Regions from separate parts of the Homo sapiens genome. Here all the other regions are linked to region 3. The links are contacts of gene promoters, found by promoter capture Hi-C in blood cells and fetal thymus (Javierre and others, 2016). All regions are on one chromosome and are shown on one strand. Each heading gives the region's core, a stretch centred on a gene start or on the middle of the fragment in contact. The rest is flanking DNA. Distances are from core to core; before and after follow the strand shown.

What was found. Contacts are between HindIII fragments. The CHiCAGO score rates a contact against its expected background, and 5 or more counts as called.
Region 1: a contact is called between a fragment that was not itself captured here and the fragment with the promoter of LCE5A in region 3, in 1 of 17 cell types (megakaryocytes). The highest score is 5.3, in megakaryocytes.
Region 2: a fragment that was not itself captured here is called in contact with the fragment with the promoter of LCE5A in region 3 in 1 of 17 cell types (M2 macrophages); the score reaches 5.7 in M2 macrophages.

Annotation. Positions count from the first base shown.
Region 1 is chr1:153,302,095-153,305,668 of GRCh38, forward strand. PGLYRP3 (peptidoglycan recognition protein 3) reads right to left here. Exons shown (of 8, transcript NM_052891.3): 4 at 2,853-2,971; 5 at 1,763-1,915; 6 at 315-513. Among named protein-coding and RNA genes, the nearest start is that of PGLYRP3, 9.1 kb to the right of the region's middle. The HindIII fragment of the contact is 166 bases long and covers 1,258-1,423 here.
Region 2 is chr1:153,213,367-153,216,942 of GRCh38, forward strand. No RefSeq gene overlaps it. Among named protein-coding and RNA genes, the nearest start is that of PRR9, 2.4 kb to the right of the region's middle. The HindIII fragment of the contact is 3,829 bases long and covers 1-3,301 here.
Region 3 is chr1:152,509,116-152,512,686 of GRCh38, forward strand. LCE5A (late cornified envelope 5A) reads left to right here and starts at 1,688. Exons shown (of 2, transcript NM_178438.5): 1 at 1,688-1,883; 2 at 2,399-3,062. The coding sequence starts at 2,420. The coding sequence ends at 2,776. The HindIII fragment of the contact is 1,377 bases long and covers 1,670-3,046 here.

The sequences.
Region 1 (3,574 bases), core at 91-2,590, 790 kb after region 3:
GGGATTGCATTAAAAAGGTACAACCCTTCATGGCCTTCCCTGAGGGTATCACAGTCTTGCTTTATCACTAGGCTTCTAATGCCTTCTTTTCAGAATCTTCCCAACCACTTGTGGAGATACGTCCAAGCGAGGTAACTGACCATTAGCTATGCTCTGAATGATCCTCAGCCCAATCTTGCAAAAATAAAATATGATGCCTTATGGAAACCACCCAGCCCAAAGGAGAGGCTCAGGAAACATCAGTTCCCTCCCACAGCCTTCCTTCCTACAATCCTGAAGAAAAAGAGGGTTCTTTTGGCATTGATCCCACTTACTGATATCCAATGTCACAAAAGTTCCGTGTGTCCATGTGAAAGGACTGTATGTTTCGGACGACAGTCTGGCAGTCTGTGGATACAGTGCAGCTTGTGCCAGCGGTGTGGATGATGATGACATATTTGGCTGGGAGGTTCATTTTAGGGCAGTGTGTCTCTCTGGCTTCCCAAGCAGATCGTTTGATGATGTTGGGGCAAACTGTGGTAAAATGAAAAGCCAAGGAAGTAGGAATTTTTTTTGCCTCTCTGTGAGCAATCACTCAACTCCAGGCTGGATTATTCCTCAGCCTCTCCCAGGCCTCCAGCACCCACGGGCACATCCTAATGTAATATCAGCTTTGGGATTCTGGGGAAGTCCAGTTGGGAGGTTTCTGATTCAGATGGCTGGAGCCAAGGGGCTGAGGCAAAAATCTACAGGCCTGATACCAATAGAAATCAGCGTATAAGCAGAAGGGAAAGGGCTGTGGGTTATACAGAGGCATGGTCATTGTCTTCAAAAGACCATGCATTGCAAATATATATGCAGGTATGTGCGCTTATGTAACAGGGCTACTACGCGGAAGTCAGTGGACTCTCCGAACTGATCACACATATTTGGAAACAACTTGAAATCTAGAGAGAACTGTACAAATATTAAGAAATTATCATTATTGAAGATAGTGCCTGTCCAAAAGCAAGAAACATTTTATTTGAGATTTACAGTTTTAAAAAGCTAATTCTAAAAATATCATTGATCCCAAGAAAAGGTCCACTAGCAGGAGTGCTTATTAATTTGACTGGTTTTAGGTTGCTGCTTATTCACTTCAAAATAGTGCATTATTTTTATTACTCAGCTTTTTGTTATATGCACTCTGATGTCAGCATCATCTGTGAGCACAAGCTTTTCTCCGAGCTGTGGCTGTGCTGTGGCCATGGCTGGTTTTTGCATTTAGAAAGGTATGTAAGCTTATGTATGTCCTTCGTGTCCCCACATAATAGACACAACTATGTATACATGTTAATCCCACTCCATTCCCACTCTATTTTTCTCCATAGCTTTTATGCCGTCTAACATCATATACATTTCTTTGTTATTTTGTTCATTTTCTGTCTCTTCTCACTGAAGTGCAAGCTTCCTGAAGGTGAAGAGTTTCATCTGTTTTGTTCACAGCTGTATGCTCAGTACTTAGAACAGTGCCTGCTATGCAGTAAATATTTGTTGACTGACTGAAAATCTGTGTACATATGTATTTGTTTTAAGAAGAAGTCTATGGCTATCTCATTCTGATGGGATGGAGAGGAGGCCAGGAAGATGCCCTCTCAGAATTTTCCAGATCTCAAAGTAGGCATGAGATGTTCTTAGTCCCAGAATCCCATGGGGTCTAACAGGAAAAAGCACTCCCAAACATGACTCCAAACATGGCTAGGTGGTGACGAGGAGGAGGGTGAGGTGACATGGAGGGTCTTACCCTTCCTGGGCATCACTGGATGTTGAGGGTCCAGGCAGGTCTCTTCTTTCAGAAGAAGTGGCTGAATATACCTGGGCGACAGGTGACCCTTCTGGATGGCATAGGAGATCAGACCCTCTGCAGCTGATAAGGCAGCAGGGCTGGGACTGCTGCCTTAAAGAGGAGGACAGGGAGCACAAAAATGTCAGTAAGAAACTCCACCTAGACCAGACACCTGCAGAAAGGATGATATGACCACTTGAGCCTGAATAACTGGATTGGAAGAGAGGAAACTGGTCCAGTTGCCAGAACAGAGTGCCTAAGAGGCGAGAAGCTACCTAGATCTCTTAGCAGCCAAGGTTGAAAACTTCTTCCAAGAGCCAAGCTAAGACTTTATCCACTCCATCTCTAGGCAGAAGAGCTGGAAGGCAGTGAAGGATACATGCAAAGGGAGGCCCACCTGACCAAGTCAGGTGTGCACTAGCACAGGAGAAAAGGCAACCAGAATTTACTCATAGCTCCCCTGATCAGGTGTGCAGTAGGCTTTTTATATCTGTTAACTCATAACTCTCACAGAAAACCTCTGAGAGAAATGCTGTTACCTAGCCCCAGCTGTCAAATGAGGATGCTGGCAGGTGCTGGTTCCATATGTATTATTTCTCAGCTCCATCCCTGTTCTGTGCTTTTCTCTATTTTTCTAGGGGCTAGAAGCCTGCAAATTATACCTCCAGATTTCCTTGCCTGCTGCCTTCTGGTCACTTTCTACCAGTGGAACTGGAATAAGAGATGAGCCATGCTTCTCTGCCTCTGGCAGTCACAGCATCTATGTCAGACAACCTCAGACTTTAGAAGTGACAGCAATAACCGTGAGCTCAAGCAACGCCCATGCAAGCTTCAGCAATATCACAGGAGTACAGACCAGTAAAGAGAGGCAGAGGACAAAAAGTATGCATGTCACAGGATCCAAAGGAGAAAAGAATTTCAAGAGAAGGGTGATCATCAGAGAAGGTAAGTATGATGTAGGGTAAAAAGATGAGTGTTGACCCTTGGGAGTGGAGGAAGAGAGTGTACACAACTCTCCAGCACAGGGTCCGCAGGGAGTGACCCTTACCTATCTTATTGCCAAAGAAGGCGATGCCCAGGGAAATGTTGTTGTAGCCCTGGGTGTGCAAGCCTTGGATGTTCCAGCCAACACCTTCATACACCCTGCCATCATCCCCAACCAGGAAGCTGACAAGAAGGAAATAATGATTTTACTGCAAATCTCCATAAATGAAAACCTCTCACTGATCCTCAAAAGGAAAAGGGGTTCTGGAGGCTCATAAGTAAGTACTATGTTCCAATAACAAAACAATAGGAGGTGCAGAATAACCAGTTTTAGACCTCCAAGAGACATGGGAATATATTTTAATTTTTGTTGGGATTTAGCTTGCATGTGTTTTCCAGAACCTCACTTCAAAAATACTCATTTGGTTCAAAGTGGAATTTGACTGCATGACACTCAAGGACCTGAGGACATTAGTTCAATGCTTTTCAAGAGCTTAAAAATTACTACATCATGTTTTTAAATTATAGGACCAAACACTTGAACATTCTCTAAAATAATTATGCCAGATTCAATAGTTCCTTTTGTATTGATGTTTTTCTTCAGATTCTCTTTAGGAATTTCCTTAAGCTCTTCTTTATCATAGAAATTTGTTTAGAATGTTCCTTTTTCACATTTACTTTTTAAATCAATTTTTTATTCTACTTCTTTTATTCCTGCCTCTTTATAATTTCTCTCCTCCACTTTCCAATCAGTCTTCAGAATTGATGTTTTCACAACTTTGCCGT
Region 2 (3,576 bases), core at 137-2,636, 700 kb after region 3:
TTGGGAGGCCAAGGGGGTGGATCACAAGATCAAGAGATCGAGACCAGCCTGAACAACATGGTGAAACACCGTCTCTACTAAAAACACAAAAATTACCTGGGTGTGGTGGCATGTGCCTGTAGTCTCAGCTACTTGGGAGGCTAAGGCAGGAGAATCGCTTGAACCTGGGAGGCAGAGGTTGCACTGCCCCGAGATCACGTGCCACTGCACACCAGCCTGGCCGACAGAGCAAGACTCCATCTCAAAAAAAAAAAAAAAAATTCAAGTCAAAGACCAAGTATTGGAGGGACAGAGCAAAGGACATAGAACAAGAAGAACCAGGGAAATCAAGGAAGGCTTCATGGAGGAGGTGAGTCCTGAACTGATTCAGATTGCACTAATATTCATAAGTAGCTTGATGGCCCTAAGTTTTGGAGCATACATTGTCTAATTTATTCCTCACAAGAAATCTGTGAAATAGTATTTTCCTTTCTCAACAAGAGGAAATTGAGATTATGAGAGGTTAAATCACTTATCCAATATTGCATATACTCTATGTGATAGTCAACCCCAGATGAATGGAATCCTGAGTTCTTTCTCCATATATCTCAGTCGCTCTTTTTTGTTGTTGTTTGTTTTGTTTTGCTTTGTTTTTTGAGATGGAGTCTCACTCTTTTTGCCCAGGCTGGAGTGCAATGGCACAACCTCAGCTCCCTGCAACCTCCACCTGCTGGGTTCAAGCGATTCTCCTGCCTCAGCCTCCCCATTAGCTAGGATTACAGGAGCCCGCCACCACGCCCGTCTAATTTTGTATTTTTAGTAGAGACGGGGTTTCACCATGTTGGCCAGGCTGGTCTCAAACTCCTGACCTCAAGTGATCCACCTGCCTCAGCCTCCCAAAGTGCTGGGATTATACGCGTGAGCCACCACGCCCAGCTCAGTGCCTCTTTATCAAAAGCTAGCCTTTGATTGAGGATGCTGACATGACAAGTAGGAATATATTTAAATGAGGGAATGGTAAATGAGATTTTATTCTTCATCTGAGGCTCCCTTCCTCAAGAGCTCCCAAGAGCCTCCAGCACTAGGAAGGTTATTAGGTTTCTACTGCTTCTGTGACAAGTTACCACAAATTTAGTGGCTTAAAACAACAAAAGTGAATCCTATGACAGTTCTGGAGCTCAGAGGCTGACAGAAGTCTCACCAGACTGAAATAGAGTGCCTGCAAAGCTGCACGTCTTTCCGGAGGTCCTACTGGAGAATCTGTTTCCAGACTGTAGAAGCCGCCCTCATTTCCGGCTCGTGGACTCCTTCCATATTCAAAATCAGCAATGGCCAGTTAAGTCTTTCTCAAATCACATCACTCTGACAGACTCTTCTTGCTTTTAAGAGCCGTACACTTATGTTGGCCCCACCTGGATAATCAAGGATAATCTCCCTATTTTAAAGTAGTCTGATTAGCAACTTTGATTTTATTCACTACTTTCAGTCTCTCTTGCCAAGTAACCTAACGTGTTTACAAATTCTAGCGATTAGGTGGCGAACATATCTAGGAGGCCATTATTCTGCCTACCACAGAAGGACTTTGGGGTCAATTTCAAGATTGTTCCACTGTCATGAATCAACTTGATGGCAGGCAGGGCATCCAGTGAGAGGAGTCAAACTCTGGGCTCTACCTAACTGGGCTCACCTCCCCTCCATGAGAACACGATCTAGTCTCTTGTTCTGCACATTTCTATTTAGTCTCCTTGTCCTGGGGCTTAACCAAAGTCACAGGCATACATGACATGAGCAAGGTCATCTCATGCATCCTGTCACAGGAAACTTCCAGAAATCCCAGCTAAGAAGGTCTCTTCCCGGATTCTCTTGCTCATTCCTTTCCTAAGCTGGCCTCCATCTATCCTTTCATTTCACTTGTATCTCTGTACTTCAACAGCCTCCCAACAAGGATTCTTTCCTAGAGGCCACCTGAAATGCCCTTGTCCACCGTCCTTGCCTGGGTAACTCATACTGTCCGGTAAGACAAAGCACAGACATCCCCTCCCCCAGGAGCCTTCCATGACCTTCCACCCAAAACCAAGGAAGAGGCCTTCTTCTGGAGCACAGGGGCTTACCTCTGGCCATATTCTCCATGGAACTGTGAGTCATTTTGGAAGGGAAATGCATCGACATCACATAGGGGCCATGAGTGACTGAAAGAACATATTATTAAAATCTGTGATGAATTCCTTGCTTTCTAGGACACAGGAGAGTTGCTTTGTCTCTTCAACAGCATTCTAAGAAAAGATGAAAAATACAAAGAGGAAGAGAATTGAAAGGAGGAGATGAAAAAGGAGGAGAAAAAGAAGGATGAGTCTCCCCACCCTACACCTACTCTCCCAGATGCCCCAAATGACTTTTTCTCTTCAGATATACACCTGGGTATTCCAAGTCCTTCCACTCTCAGGCCTCTGTCTACTGCCAGGACCTCAATGGGGCTCATGGTGATGTCACATTAACCTCTGAGAACCAGTCTCAAAGGTCAAAAATGCTTCCTGATCTCCCCAGCTTACCTTTTAAAAACTTTTCAGGTATCAAGCATCCAAAACCTATATAAACATTTGAGACATTTTTGATTTTAGCCAAATATTCTTCTTAGGAAATGACTTAAACCTACCCCTTCAAGTTAAGAGATTGAACATAACTTTTTTTTATACTTTAAGTTTTAGGGTACATGTGCACAACGTGCAGGTTAGTTACATATGTATACATGTGCCATGTTGGTGTGCTGCACCCAGTAACTCGTCATTTAACATTAGGTATATCTCCAAATGCTATCCCTCCCCTCTCCTCCCACCCCACAACAGGCCCCTGTGTGTGAGAACATAACTTTAAATTAAGGAGAAAGGAAGGGAACATCATCATATTTAAAGACCCTTGAATTTGGTCAACTTCAGCAAACACAGAACCACCATTTTAAGGAAATGGGGGCTTCTTTCAAAGTAAATCTTTTCCCATTTTCAATTAAATGAGATTTTCCTCTACTCCCAGCTCTCCCACATCCACCTTCTGTATTCCTTCATTAATACATTTACCCCATCAATAATCATTTGTCTTCCATCATCTTCCACTTACTATACCTATGGCATAGTACCTATCCTCTAGGAACTTATAACCCAGGAAAAAATAAGATCTATATATAAATATCTGGAAAGTCCTAATTTCAATAGTAAATGTCATATGAATAATATAAATAATAGATACCATGGGAGTGCATAAAGAGGTGGATTCATTTCTGGTTTAGAGTAATCAGGAAAGGCTCTCAGAGGGTGGTAGACATGAGTAAAGCTTTGCAGAATGCTTAGGATTCCCACAGGCACAGGGAGAACACACCAGGTAAAAACTAACAGCCCAAACTAGAAAGTAGAGGTAGAGAAAACTGGGTGTGTTTGCTTTGAAACTTTTCCTTTCATCCCCTGACTTTTATTGACTTGAGTTCTAAGAAAACGTTTTCCAGAAGGCAAAGAGACAAGTTAACTTTGTTCCAGCCTGTTCTCCTGGTCACTATGAAAACTCTGTGAGTAACTCCACTTTCATAAGGGTGTCATAAATCAAGGTTGA
Region 3 (3,571 bases), core at 438-2,937:
TAAAGTAAACTCATGTAAGTACTATGAGAAAGACTATGTAAAATACAAACAAAACTCAAATAACAACAACAACAACAAAACCACTATATATAGAAAAAAATGACGGGAAGGAAAATAGCAAAATAGTAACCATATTTTAGGGATGGGATTATAGGTGATTTTAAAATTCTTCCTATTTTTTGGTGTTTTTAAATAATGAGTATGCTTTCTTTATAATCTCATTCCCTAGTGACAAGCAAATACTCTTAATATTTTGCTGTAAGAAAACATCGAGTCTAAGTTCTGATATCATAAAAATTAGTTTTGGTTTCAAAATTGGCAGGTCAGTAATTTGAAATTTAGCATATATTTTCTCATGGAAATAAGGATAGCCATAGTGATTAGTTTTTTCTTTTTTAAACTTGCAGTTCTAGGAACTGTGCTAAGAACTTCATCTGTATTTCTTTATTCAGTGGATTAGGAATGTTTTCAGCCCCCTTTTCCAGTGATGGTTAAGTAACTTGCCAGAGGTTGCACAGGTGGAGAGAGCAAGGGTGGGAACTGATGCTGGATGTCCCTCTCCAGGGTCTGTGTTATAACTGGGCTGATGCTTCTCACTGCAGCCCATTTCAAAGAGCATGGAGCTAAGGTACTGCCTTTTTCTCCCAGTCTTATTTTCTCTCACTGCAGCTTTCATTGTGAATATGCCATATTTTGGCCACCCTTTCCAGCTAAGTCAATTTTGATAACTATCCTGGGGACCCAACTTTCCCTCAGAATATTGTTTGCTGAGAAAATGTTTTGGATCCCACCATGGGCTTTTAAAACCTATATACTCCTCCTCTTCACCTCTCCATCCAAAGATTAATCTTCTCCTGAGGTCCTTCCCAGGTTGGATGCTCTTCTCTTATGAATGACCAGAACTGGTGCCTCACTTCTGGAAACCTCCAGATGAGTGGAGAGCTTTTGCTCCACCCTCAGTATACACCTGGTCTTTGCTGCCTCACCTCGAGCTGGCCAAGGGCACCTTCTTTAACACGAGTAAATAAGCCATTCCTAGACTTCTGCCCTTTTAAAGGCATTGTTAGTGCTGAATCGGTACTGTTTGTGAGCAGTTTTGGAGCATCAAATTCAGGCAAGGAGAGAAGCCCAACCACCCACACTGTCAGCATTAGATCTGCCTAAAATAACATCACTGAGATATCAAACCTTCCTTGTTCTGGTTATGGCATCATCTAGAAATGAAAAAAAAATCATGTTAGATTATTTGCTTGGGCCTACAATTTTATTTTGGATCTCTATTATTATTCTAAAAAGGGCCATTTAATTTCCATCTTGGGAATTTTCTCCTTCAGTTCCTATACCAAAGAGAAAACAGAACTTCTGTTCATTCCAGAGGTGTAGAGCCGTATTGGCCCAGCTCAGAAAATAGAAGGCATAGCAGAGCTGCCTGTGAGATAGATAGGTGCCATGTGCAATTCACAGAGCTCCCTCACCATCCTAGAGGCCTGCAGTTCTCAGGGGATCTTCCTGTGGGTTAATACTTGAGATGCTTATGCAGGGAGGAACTGGGTCCCTGGGATGCGAGGGGAGGGAGTCACCCATGCCTTTATGAAAGATGCTTCTAGCGTCCCGCACATGGTCTGCACCTCCTGATGCTAGGTCAGGACTGAATTGTATAAAAGGCAGAAGCTTCTGACAGCACCTCAGTCTACCTGTCTCCTGAGTGATCTGCTGCAGTGCCTGAACCAGGTAGAGTGCTTCTCAGGACCAGGATGAACTCTTGGTGCTGGTGTTTTGGGCAGAAAGAGCCCCTGGGTGGAGGTTGAGGCCATTCTTGAAGAAAGACAAGGATAAAGAAGGATTTTGGAGGGGAAGGTTCTTCTGGAAGGGGAGGGTGGAAGGTAGGTAAAAGGAATGAAGGACTGATGCCTTTCTGAAGTTCCAAGTTATTCATTTGAAAATATGGAGTTACTAGGTGGAAATCATTTGTATCATTCTTGTTACTGGTCTTGGGAGACTGGGTTTTTAAAATCTGGTTCATCTTAGGCCAGGAGTAGTGGCTCATGCCTGTAATCCCAGCACTTTGGGAGGCTGAGGTGGGCGGGTCAAGAGGTCAGGAGTTCGAGACTGACCAACATGCTGAAATCCCGTCTCTACTAAAAACACAAAAATTAGCTGGGTGTGGTGGTGCACACCTGTCTGAGGCAGGAGAATCACTTGAATCCGGGAGGTGGAGGTTGCAGTGAGCCGAGATAGCACCACTGCACTCCAGCCTGAGTGACAGAGTGAGACTCCATCCCAAATAATAATAATAATCATAATAATAAATTCTGGTCATCTTAGAGATAAAATCTTGTGAAATTATAGTTCAATTTTAAGGGCAAGGAAGTGACCTTGGGCTTGTATTGTCTTTCAGCTTTATTCAGCTTCTACAGAGATGTCCTGCCAGCAGAGCCAGCAGCAGTGCCAGCCTCCTCCCAAATGTACCCCTAAATGCCCTCCCAAGTGTACTCCTAAGTGTCCTCCCAAGTGTCCCCCAAAATGCCCTCCCCAGTGTTCAGCCCCATGCCCACCTCCAGTCTCTTCCTGCTGTGGTTCCAGCTCTGGGGGCTGCTGCAGCTCTGAGGGTGGTGGCTGCTGCCTGAGCCACCACAGGCCCCGCCAGTCCCTCCGACGCCGACCTCAGAGTTCCAGCTGCTGTGGCAGTGGCAGTGGCCAGCAGTCTGGGGGCTCCAGCTGCTGCCACAGCTCTGGGGGCTCTGGCTGCTGCCACAGCTCTGGAGGCTGCTGCTGACCTGGGCCATGAGGAGCACGGAGGAGAAGGACTGGCAGATCCCAGGTGCTGAAGATGTGTGTCAGCCTGAGGCTTCTTTTCTCTCATTTCCCATGGAAGGACTTCGGAAATGCCTTAAGTTCCCCTCTTTATCCTGCCCATGTTCACTCCATTGTAGGGTTGAAGTCTAGCTTGTGATATTTTCTGGCCTGGCTTTCCCTCTCAGACATAGCTCTTTGGAGAACTAGGTGTTGTAATTCAGTTATGAAGCTATTTTCTCTGTAACAATAAAGCTTTTTATTCCTGATATCACTGCCTCCTGATTTCATTGTTTGCCTCTCCCACTCCCTACCTGCTGCATCAAGCCATCTTCCCTTCCCTTCTCTTAAATGCAAGCGAACACTTTACAAACTTGTTTAGGAAGCACATTTTGGCAGTGAAGCTACTTAGGCCTCTGGAAAACAATATTTCCTTCTATGCACTGGATTCTGGAACTTTAAGCTTGAAGGAAAGAATAATGTCTGAGACCATTACGCCAGACACAAGATTGTATGAGGAGAGCCAGGAATGGGTTTGAAGAGAAGAGGATGGTTGTACTCAAAAGGTTCAGGTTCTGAGAGGGTTTCCTTCAAGCATGGGTCACAGTTTGAAAAATTGCTTGTCCCCATTCATGGGGAATAAGATTGCCTGAAGTGCTCATCCTGGGCTCTAATAAATGGACACTCTTTACTTTTCTGATTATTATAAGCTCAGGTGTTTCCATCAGTTGGCTAGAGGGAGAGCTGGGTGGGCAGTGAGTGAGTTTTGGAGGCAGAT